Linked DNA regions of Homo sapiens: regions 1 and 3 are each linked to region 2. The links are contacts of gene promoters, found by promoter capture Hi-C in human tissues and cell types (Jung and others, 2019). All regions are on one chromosome and are shown on one strand. Each heading gives the region's core, a stretch centred on a gene start or on the middle of the fragment in contact. The rest is flanking DNA. Distances are from core to core; before and after follow the strand shown.

Region 1 (3,449 bases), core at 1-2,500, 380 kb before region 2:
ACATGACAGGGCCCTGGAAATGTTCTTTTTTCCTCATCTGGTTGCTGGCCAGATAAGGTGTTCACCTTGTGAAAGCTCCTTCAGCCTCATATATTTAGGATCTATGCCCTTTTATGTATGTATTTCCAACTTCGAAAAAAAGTTTAAAATAAATATTCCCTTTGATTGGCTAAATAAAAGACAGCCCATCCACAAATGTACTATTCTATGCTACCGTGAAAAAAGATTGTGCTGGGCGCCATGGCACACACCTGTGATCAGTCCCAGCTACTCGGGAGGCTGAGGCGGGAGGATCCCTTCAACTCAGGAGTTCTAGGCTAGCCAAGGCAACATAGCAAGACCCTGTCTCTCCTTTTTTTTTTTTTTTCTTTGAGACGGAGTCTCGCTCTGTTGCCCAGGCTGGAGTGCAGTGGCGCGATCTCGGCTCACTACAACCTCCACCTCCTGGGTTCAAGCGATTCTCCTGCCTCAGCCTCCCAAGTATCTGAGACTACAGGTGCATGCCACCATGCCCAGCTAATTTTTTTATTTTTAGTAGAAACGGGGTGGCTGGGCGCAGTGGCTCACACCTGTAATCCCAGCACTTTGGGAGGCCGAGGCGGGGGCGGATCACGAGGTCAGGAGATCGAGACCACGGTGAAATCCCGTCTCTACTAAAAATACAAAAAATTAGCCGGGGGCAGTGGCAGGCACAGTGGCGGGCGCCTGTAGTCCCAGCTACTCGGGAGGCTGAGGCAGGAGAATGGCATGAACCCGGGAGGCGGTGCTTGCAGTGAGCCGAGATCACGCCACTGCACTCCAGCCTGAGCGACAGAGTGAGACTCCGTCTCAAAAAAAAAAAAATAATAATAATAATAATAAATGATTGAGGAAGCTTTGGAGGTGTTGACAAGAGATCCTCTCCAATGTATATTAGGCAAAACAAATAAACAAAAAAAAGCTGGGTGTGGTGGCCCACGCCTATAATCCTAGCACTTTGGGAGGCCAGTACAGGAGGATTGCTTTAGCCCAGGACTTCATGACCAGCCTGGGCAACATGGTGAGACCCTGCCTCTAAAAAAAAAAAAAAAAAAAAATTAGTTGAGTATCACGGCACACACCCGTAGTCTCAACTACACAGGAGGCAGAAGCAGGAGGATCACTTGAGCCCAGGAATTTGAGGCTGCGGTGAGCTATGATCGCACCACTGCACTCTAGCCCAGCCTGGGTGACAGAGTGAGACCCTGTGTATAAACAACAACAACAACAACAAAGAATAAAGTATGGTCCGGGGTGGGAGAGCAAGAGGGAAACTTTCATCTCAAAGCCGTAACATCTTTTGTATCTTTTGTATTTAAAGCATGTGAATGTATTATCCCTTTCAAAGAAAATAGCCCCAAGAGGCCGGGCGAGGTGGCTCACGCCTGTAATCTCAGCACTTTGGGAGGCCAAGGCAGGCTGATCACAAGGTCAGGAGATCGAGACCATCCTGGCTAACATGGCGAAACCCGGTCTCTACTAAAAAATACAAAAAAATTAGCCAGGCGTGGTGGCGGGCGCCTGTAGTCCCAGCTACTCGGGAGGCTGAGGCAGGAGAATGGCGTGAACCCGGGAGGCGGAGCTTGCAGTGAGCCGAGACCGTGTCACTGCACTCCAGCCTGGGCGACAGAGCGAGACTCCGTCTCAAAAAAAAAAAAAAAAAATAGCCGTAAGTAACTACCTTTTCATACATACATACATACATACATATATATGTGTATGTGTATATATATATTTTAATATATATGTATATAATTATTTTTTGAGATGGAGTTTTGCCCTTGTTACCCAGGCTGGAGAGAAATGGCACGATCTCAGCTCACTGCAACCTCTGCCTCCTGGGTTCAAGCAATTCTCCTGTCTCAGCCTCCCACATAGCTGGGACTACAGGTGCACGTCACTATTCCAAGAACATTTTTGTATTTTTAGTAGAGACAGGGTTTCACGATATTGGTAAGGTTGGTCTCAAACTCCAGACCCCAGGTGATCCACTTGCCTCGGCCTCCCAAAGTGCTGATATTAGAGGCGTGAGCCACTGTGCCCAGCCAATTTTTGTATTTTTAGTAGAGACAGGGTTTCGCCATGTTGGTCAGGCTGGTCTCGAACTCCTGACTTCAGGTGATCCACCTGCCTCGGCCTCCCAAAGTGCTGGGATTACAGGCGTGAGCCACCACACCCGGCCACATGTATATATATATATTTAAATCAGGTGCCAGGGCCTCACTGCAGGCTGAATTGTATTCTAGCAAATGGGACCAGGGAATCTGCTTTTTATTTTGAGACAGGGTCTTCCTCTGTCATCCAGGCTGGAGTGCAGTGGCGCTATCTTTGCTCACTGCAACCTCTGCCTCCTGGGCTCAAGCAATCCTCCCACCTCAGCCTCCCAAGTAGCTGGAATACAGTTGAGCACCACCATGCTCAGTTAATTTTTAAATTTTTTTGTAGAGACAGGGTCTCACTATATTGCCCAGGCTGGTCTCAAACTCATGGGCTCAAGCGATCCTCCCACCTGGGACTCCCAAAGTGCTGGAATTATAGGCATCAGCGACTGCCCAGCCAGAGTCTGGTTTTTGTTGTTTTTTGAGATGGAGTCTCGCTCCATAGCCCAGGTTGGAGTGCAGTGGCACCATCTCAGCTCACTGCAACCTCTGCCTCCCAGGTTCAATCAGTTCTCCTGTCTCAGCCTCCCAAGTAGCTGGGATTACAGATGTGCACCACCATGCTTGGCTAATTTTTATATTTTTAATAGAGACGGGGTTTCACCATGTTGGCCAGGCTGGCCTCGATCTCCTGACCTCAAGTGACCCACCCACCTCAGCCTCTCAAAGTGCTGGGATTACAGGTGTGAACCTGTAATCCTTGCCTGGCCAAGAGTCCTTTTTTTTTTTTGAGACGGAGTCTCACTCTGTCACCTAAGCTGGAGTGCAGTGGCGCCACCTTGGCTCACTGTAACCTCTGCCTCCCAGGTTGAAGCGATTCTCCGGCCTCAGCCTCCCGAGTAGCTGGGACTATAGGTACACTAATTTTTTGTATTTTTATTATTTATTTATTTATTTATTTCGAGACTGAATTTCACTCTTTTTGCCCAGGCTGGAGTGCAGTGGCACAAACTCGGCTCACCGCAACCTCTGCCTCCCAAGTTCAAGCGATTCTCCTGCCTCAGCCTCTGGAGTAGCTGGGATTACAGGCATGCACCACCATGCCTGGCTAATTTTGTATTTTTAATAGAGATGGGAATTCACCATGTTGGTCAGGCTGGTCTCGAACTCCCGACCTCAGGTGATCCACCTGCCTTGGCTCCCAAAGTGCTGGGATTACAGGCATGAACCACTGTGGCTGGCATTTTTTGTTATTTTTTGTAGAGATGGGGTTTCACTGTGGTAGCCAGGATTGTCTCGATCTCCTGACCTCGTGATCCCCCAGCCTTGGCC
Region 2 (3,415 bases), core at 766-3,265:
TATATTTTTTGTAGAGATGGAGTTACACCATGTTGCCCAGGCTAATCTAGAACTCCTAGGGTCAAGCAATCCACCCACCTTGGCTTCCCAAACTGTTGGGATTACAGTCGTGAGCCACCGTGCCTGGCCAGATTATGTTTATAACATATAATGTCTACATTTTCACAAATGGTACCCTCATAAAAAGCCATATTTCCCACCTGAACATAAGATCCACTGGGTTGGCCAGGCACGGTTGTTCATGCCTGTAATCCCAGCACTTTGGGAGGCCAAGGCGGGCAGATCATGAGGTCAGGAGATCGAAACCATCCTGGCCAACATGGTGAAACCTCCATCTCTACTAAAACTACAAAAATTAGCTGGGCATGGTGGCGCATGCCTGTAATCCCAGCTACTCAGGAGGCTGAGGCAGAAGAATCGCTTGAACCCGGGAGGCAGAGGTTGCAGTGAGCCGAGATAGTGCCACTACATTCCAGCCTGGCGACAGAGCTAGACTCTGTCTCAAAAAAAAAAAAAAATCCATCTGGTCAAGGAGTTTTTCCTTTTTGTTGCTGTTGTTGTTGTTCACTGCTGTGCCCAGTAGGTGCATAAAAAATATTTGTTGCCAGGTGCTGTGGTTTACATTTGTAATCCCAGCACTTGGGGAGGCCGAGGCAGGCGGATCACTTGAGGTCACGAGTTCGAGACCAGCCTGGCCAACATGGTGAAACCCTGTCTTTACTAAAAATACAAAAAAATCAGCCAGGCGTGGTGGCACGCGCCTGTATTTCCAGCTACTTGTGAAGCTGAGGCACAGGAATAGCTTGAACCTGGGAGGCAGAGGTTGCAGTGAGCTGAGATGGCACCACTGCACCCCAGCCTGGGAGATAAAGGAAGACTCTGTCTCAAACAAAAAAATTTTGTTGCTGGAATGAGGGGCTTTCCTATCCTGTTGTCGAACTGCTGGTTACACACACACACACACACACACACACACACACACACACACACATCATTCGATGAAGGTGTAGTGTCCATCATTTCCGCAGGCAGGCACACAGAAATGCCCAGGAATTAGTGAAAATTGGAAATCTGGATAGAAGACTGGGCCCGACGCTGGAAGGCAGGCACAAACTGGGCCCCGCCAGAGGGGACAGTGATCTACAGAGGCAGGAAAGAGTGTGGAGTGTCCCCAGTCCCCCAAGGGAAACAGGGCAGCACCTGAATTCTGGAGGTCCTATCAAGGGAGAGACTGGTCAGGCACAGTGGCTCACGCCTGTCATTCCAGCACTTTGGGAGGCTGAGGCAGTAGGATTGCTTGAATGCAGCAGTTCAAGACCAGCCTGGGCAACACAGCGAGACCCCATCTCTACAAAAAACTGCAAAAAATTAGCCAGGCATGATGGCGCACCTGTAGTCCCAGCTACTCTGGAGGCTGAGGCAGGAGGCTGAGGCTCCCGTGAGCTATGATTGAGCCACCACACTCTGGCCTGGATGACAGAGCAAGACCATGTCTCAAAAAAAGAAAAAAAAAAAGAGATCAATTTTGTCTTTGGGACAGGACATCGCACTTAGTAGGAATTTATTTGTTGGGTGGACACACAGTAGGCACTTAATGCCTATTTGCTGCGTTGACACCTAGTAGGTACTTCCAAGGCTCTTTGTTGAGTCAATAAATGTGACCTCGTGTTTTCTTCCAAGTCCAGGGTCCCAGGGGTAAGCCCAGAGGTAACCTGGGGTTGAAGACAGTTGTTTCAGGTTGAGGCCACCTGGCCAGGAGTACTGTGACGTCACCAGGCTGCGTGACGTTTCGCGCCGGCCGGTTCTCACGGGTGGGGGCTGGGAGGGGCAGAGTGAGAGATCGGGTGGGGGGGGCGGACAAAGGGCCCTCCGTGCAGCTCCTGTCGGCCCCCGCGTGCGCCCCGGCCAGCCGGCCGGTCACATCTGGAATTCATTGCAGCCGCCGCCGGAAAGGGGAGGAGAGGAGGGCGGGGCGAGCGGGGGGCAGAGGCGGCGGCTCTCCGCCCCCCCCTCTGTCCCTCGTCCCAGCCCCGGGACTTAGCCGAGCCCGGCTGGCAACCCCAGCCCCAGCCGCGGCCGCCCTGGGGACGCAGACGCCAAGGCCCCTCCGGCCAGGGCCGGGAGCCGGGCCGGCCTAGCCAGGTGAGCGCGCGTGGCGACAAGGAGGCAGAAAAGGCGGGCCTGGTCCCCTGAGGTCTCGGGATCCGAGCTGAGGGGCCCCAATCGGGGGGCTGGGGCGCGCACGCGCCGCCTGGGTTCCTGCTGCACGGAGCGGGTGGTCACAGTGCGCCCTCTCCAAGAATCCGGGCGGCCCCCACTGCCTCGGCCGCGAACCCGCAGACTGTGCTCCCCGCCTTTCTCAGCGGCAGGAAGTTGGCGCCGGGGAGAAGGCTGAATCCGAGCGCTTTCGACTGGAGTCTTTGGGAGGCAGGACGCCGTGCTCGGGGACCGGGGTCTTGGGGAGTGTGTTTGGGGGGGGGCAACACCCCTCCTGGCTGACTCCGGCTGAGCGAGGGCAAAAGGATGTGCGCGCCGTGGAGCCTCCAAGCCAAGGGGCGGCACCCACGGGGAGGGCGGTCGGACGTCGGGCTTTCTGCCTCGGTTTCCCCAAGTTGTTTGCCTCCTCCGGTCCCCCGGCGGGGGGCGTGGCTTTGTTTTGTAAGGAAAGAGAAAGTGACTGCGTGGCTCAGACGCCTCCTCTTTCAACTCCGGCTCAGGGATGGGTCGTGGGTGAAGGCGCGCGTGGCGCGGACCTCGCGTGGCCCCGAGCCGGGCGGAGCGTCGGAACTCGCCCCCTTCTCAGGCACGGGTTGACTCACCCGGGGATTTCCACCCCCTCCTCTGTCTCTGTCCTTGTCAGATGCTCCGGGCCCCACGCGCTGAGCCCACAGTCCCCCTCGTGGGGCGACACGGCCAGGCGCGGAACTCGCGGTGCAGCTGCTGCTGCGATCTGGTCCCCCACCCCCAGTCTTCCCAGAATCTCGAGGCGGGACCCCTGGCGGGACGGAGAGGAATCCTTCCAGTGCCGCTTGGAGACGTGGGGGCCCCGCGCGTGTGGCGGTCTCGGGGGCGGGGGGGAGAGGAGGCGTGGCTCCCGCGCGAGCGAGCGTGGATACCGCGCATTCCTAAACCAGATAAGGAGGCCGAGAGTGCGGGCCAGCACGGGGTCGGGTCCTGCTGCCATCTCCATGGAGACACGCTGGGCTTTGCCTGGTTGATGGTGGGCGATGGGGGCGCTGCCCGCGGACCAGAGGTGTCTCCAGGCTCCTTTGTTGCTGTTTGGGTCTGGGCTGAGCTTAGGAGTTTCCACCCTTGGGAACCCACTAGGGTCTCCTTTGTTCATTGGTTCATTCATTCATTCATTCATTTGCCCATTCCACACGTTTTCTGAGTGTTTTATTTGTGCCAGGCATCC
Region 3 (3,116 bases), core at 395-2,894, 420 kb before region 2:
ATTCACAAATCCCAGGGACCAAGAGCCACCCACATAAGCAAGGGGCCCCAGCACCACGGAACAGGGAGAGGAGCACCTGCCAATGTCCTGCGGCCTCCTCCTGCTTTCCAGCTGTGAATGAGGCCCTGGTTCCCACACTTCATTCACAGTCTGGGCGGCTACTGTAACTACATCCCACGAGACCACACACAAAGCATCACGCACAAGGGACAGTGGCAGCACTCTGAGCAATCCATGGAGATTCCCATCCACAAATACCTGAGGAAAAGAGAGCTTAAAGTCCTAAATTTGAATCCTAACTTCGGATGGCACCTCGCGATTCCATGTGGACCACAAATATGCCATCACACCACTCATTTTAAAGAGAGCAAAATCTTGAAAAAGATTCAGCAGCAGTGAATTACCGGAGTCCAGAAAAAGAAACCACTGAAACCGACGCTTCGTTGCTGATCCATGTCACCTAAGCAGCAACTGGCAAACAATGTTGGAAATGTGGAGAAGAGATCCCTCATTCTCCTCAAATTTGGCCACTGAACTGGGGGAGGAGCATGCAGACCGCCGTACACCCCAAATAATTCATCCAGGCGGTGAATTAACTGGGGCAGAACCTCATGAGTAACCTCGAGAATCTCAATCGTTCAACTACTTGAGAAAATAAAGGTAGAAATGGGTTTTAAGCATCCACGTTTCGGGGCCCAGGCTTGCACCCAAGTAGATTGCCGGTCTAGAGAAGGCAAATACTAACAATCTGGAAAAACATTCAACAATGAAAACAAACTAACTAAAGAAAAAGCTGAAACCCTCTCAAGTTTTGACCCTGATCTGAGAGAGGCCTGGCTGACCAGAGATTTGGAAACCCGACGAACCCACAAAGGCTTCCTCAGCAATCCGCGTGGGAAGGGGCTTCCAAGGAGGGGGTCCGCCTCTCCGCGACCTGTGAGGACAAAGGAGGCGACTTTTCCCGCCTCGGGAACCTGGGACTCTCCTGGAATCGGGGGCGGGACCGGGACAAAGAGGAGGAGGGGGTAGGGAAGGAGTGAGGAAGGGGGGTCGCCCCGCCGCGGAACTCGGGACCCGAGGGGGTGTGTGCTCCAAGCACGTGCGCGCGTCCCCAGGACCCCCGCAACAGACAAAAGCCCAGCCGCGGGGAGGCGGCAGCCGGGGGCCCGGTGCGCGCGCACCCCCCCGCGCGTGGCGCCGCCGCCGGCCGAGGGGCCGCGTGCGGGGGGGAGCGGCTGCGCGCGCACCGAGTCCTCGCCGCCGCCGCAGCCGCCATTTTGTTTCCTCCGCACAATGGAAGAGAGTTAACGGCCGAGCGCGGGAGCGAGGCCGGCAAGGGAGGAACGGGCCAGGCGCCGGGATGAGGGAACCGGGCGGAGGCGGCGAGCGTGGGATCCCTCCAGCCTTGTCACCGCGAACCCTCAGTGGGGATCTCACTGAGGGCGGGCGGGGGGAGGGGCAGAGGCGGGAGCGGGCCCGGCCGCCGCCACATTGACGCTTACCTTGTCGGCGTCCCCTTCTTCGACCGCAGCCGCCGCCGCCGCCCTCCTGCCACAGCCCGCCGGGGTCTGCCCCCAAAAGCCACGCGGTGCGCGCCGGGCTGCTGGGTCCAACTGCAATGGCGAGAAGAGGAGGAGGAGGAGTCCGGACCGGGGGCGAGCGGGCGGGCGGGCAGGCGCGCGCCGGGGAGGTGCGGGAACACGTGACCGGCTGAAGCCCCGCCCCCTTTGACGCCGCGTTGCGCCTCGACGCAGGCCCAACCCAAATGGGAGGGAGGGGCGAAAAGAGATAAGGGGGGGGCTGAGGGGGTGGGCGTGAGTTGCACGTGGTGCAAGCGGGAGTGTTTGCGTGCGTAGTCACGTGACTTCGGCACCTTTCCCTCCGCTTTCGATAGGTTGCTCCATCATGTGACAATGGCGAATTTCGCGGTTTCCTTCGCCATCTGACAACTTTTGGCGCCTTCCCTTTGCCGTACTGGGAGTCCTCCATCACGTGACGAGGGCACGCTCTGGTTTTCGCTAAGGCGTTTTTTGAGCGGCCATTACCACGTGATGCAAGGCAAGCGTCAGAGGCGGAGCCTCCCTACGGCTGCGACATTTTGCGCCTGCGCGGCCGCCATCTTACGCCCGTCGCCCTGAGTACGTTAGCGGAAATGGCTCCGAGAGGCTTTGACGCATGTGTACCTTTTTAGTGGCGGTATCTCGGCCGGGGATTTTCGGGCTCCAGTGGAGGTGGCTATGCTCACCCCATCTCCCTTGAGAGGCACAGAAGGTTAGAGATGTGTGCGAGGAACGGCCAGGTCCAGCGTCTCCTCGTTGCTGCCCCTTGAGCCCGGGACCGGCGCCAATGCGCGCCCGGGTTCTTGGGTTCTTTCGTCCCGCAGACCTGCCTTGGTGTGGCGTCCCTGGGCCGTAGCTTCCGAAGGCTGCAGCCGACCTGGTCGGGGTCCTCTAGCCCGCCTTCCCCTTCCCCCATTGACAGATGGAGAAACTGAGGCCCAGGCCAAAAAATATCTCACTAGAGGGCTCACCGCCATTTCCTGGAAAAATTGGGGCTGGGACTCAACGGACGCTCGTCCAGCAGCAGCGCGGAGCTCCGAAGTAAAGGCGCCCGTGACCGAGTGCTTTGTCCTTACAAGCGTGGTGTTCTTGAATGCTTCCAGGCGCCTTATGAGGCCCCCGATGTACAATCTGTGCTTAACTAAACCCCACTGTCTTCCAGGGTCAGGTTGGCCATCCGCAGGCGTAGTTGCTAGGAAGGTTTGACAGATGTCCGCCTGTTGATTCAGACGTTCCCAGGATTTGGAGCAAGAAGAGCAAGGAAGGCCAGGCGCGGTGGCTCACGTTTGTAATCCCAGCACTTTGGGAGGCCGAGGCGGGCGGATCACGAGGTCAGGAGTTCGAGACCAGCCTGGCCAGCATGGTGAAACCCCGTCTCTACTAAAAATACAAAAGAAAATTAGCCGGGTGTGGTGGCACATGCCTGTAGTCCCACCTACTTGGGAGGCTGAGGCAGGAGAATTGTTTGACCTGGCAGGCGGAGGTTGCAGTGAGCCGAGATTGCGCCACTGCACTCCAGTCTGGGCGACAGAGCGAGACTCTGTCTCAGAAAAAAAA

Evidence for each region. Contacts are between HindIII fragments. The study calls those that stand out against the background at their distance.
Region 1: a fragment that was not itself captured here is called in contact with the fragment with the promoter of S1PR2 in region 2 in 1 of the 25 tissues and cell types used here (liver).
Region 3: the fragment with the promoter of ILF3 here is called in contact with the fragment with the promoter of S1PR2 in region 2 in 1 of the 25 tissues and cell types used here (dorsolateral prefrontal cortex).

The regions. Positions count from the first base shown.
Region 1 is chr19:10,605,145-10,608,593 of GRCh38, reverse strand. It overlaps a transcript of SLC44A2 not described here. Among named protein-coding and RNA genes, the nearest start is that of SLC44A2, 19 kb to the left of the region's middle. The HindIII fragment of the contact is 3,280 bases long and covers 1-2,890 here.
Region 2 is chr19:10,229,931-10,233,345 of GRCh38, reverse strand. It overlaps S1PR2 (sphingosine-1-phosphate receptor 2), which reads left to right and starts at 2,015. Exons shown (of 2, transcript NM_004230.4): 1 at 2,015-2,142. MIR4322 (microRNA 4322) reads right to left here and starts at 2,933; the gene lies at 2,861-2,933. RefSeq lists enhancers at 1,461-1,510, 2,657-3,371, 3,311-3,390 and silencers at 1,711-2,370, 3,081-3,130. The HindIII fragment of the contact is 35,191 bases long and covers 1-3,415 here.
Region 3 is chr19:10,652,874-10,655,989 of GRCh38, reverse strand. It overlaps ILF3 (interleukin enhancer binding factor 3), which reads right to left and starts at 1,644. Exons shown (of 20, transcript NM_017620.3): 1 at 1,503-1,644. It overlaps ILF3-DT (ILF3 divergent transcript), which reads left to right and starts at 2,118. Exons shown (of 1, transcript NR_024333.1): 1 at 2,118-3,116. RefSeq lists silencers at 1,317-1,476, 1,557-1,796 and enhancers at 1,887-2,356, 2,597-2,766, 2,632-3,116. The HindIII fragment of the contact is 14,146 bases long and covers 1-3,116 here.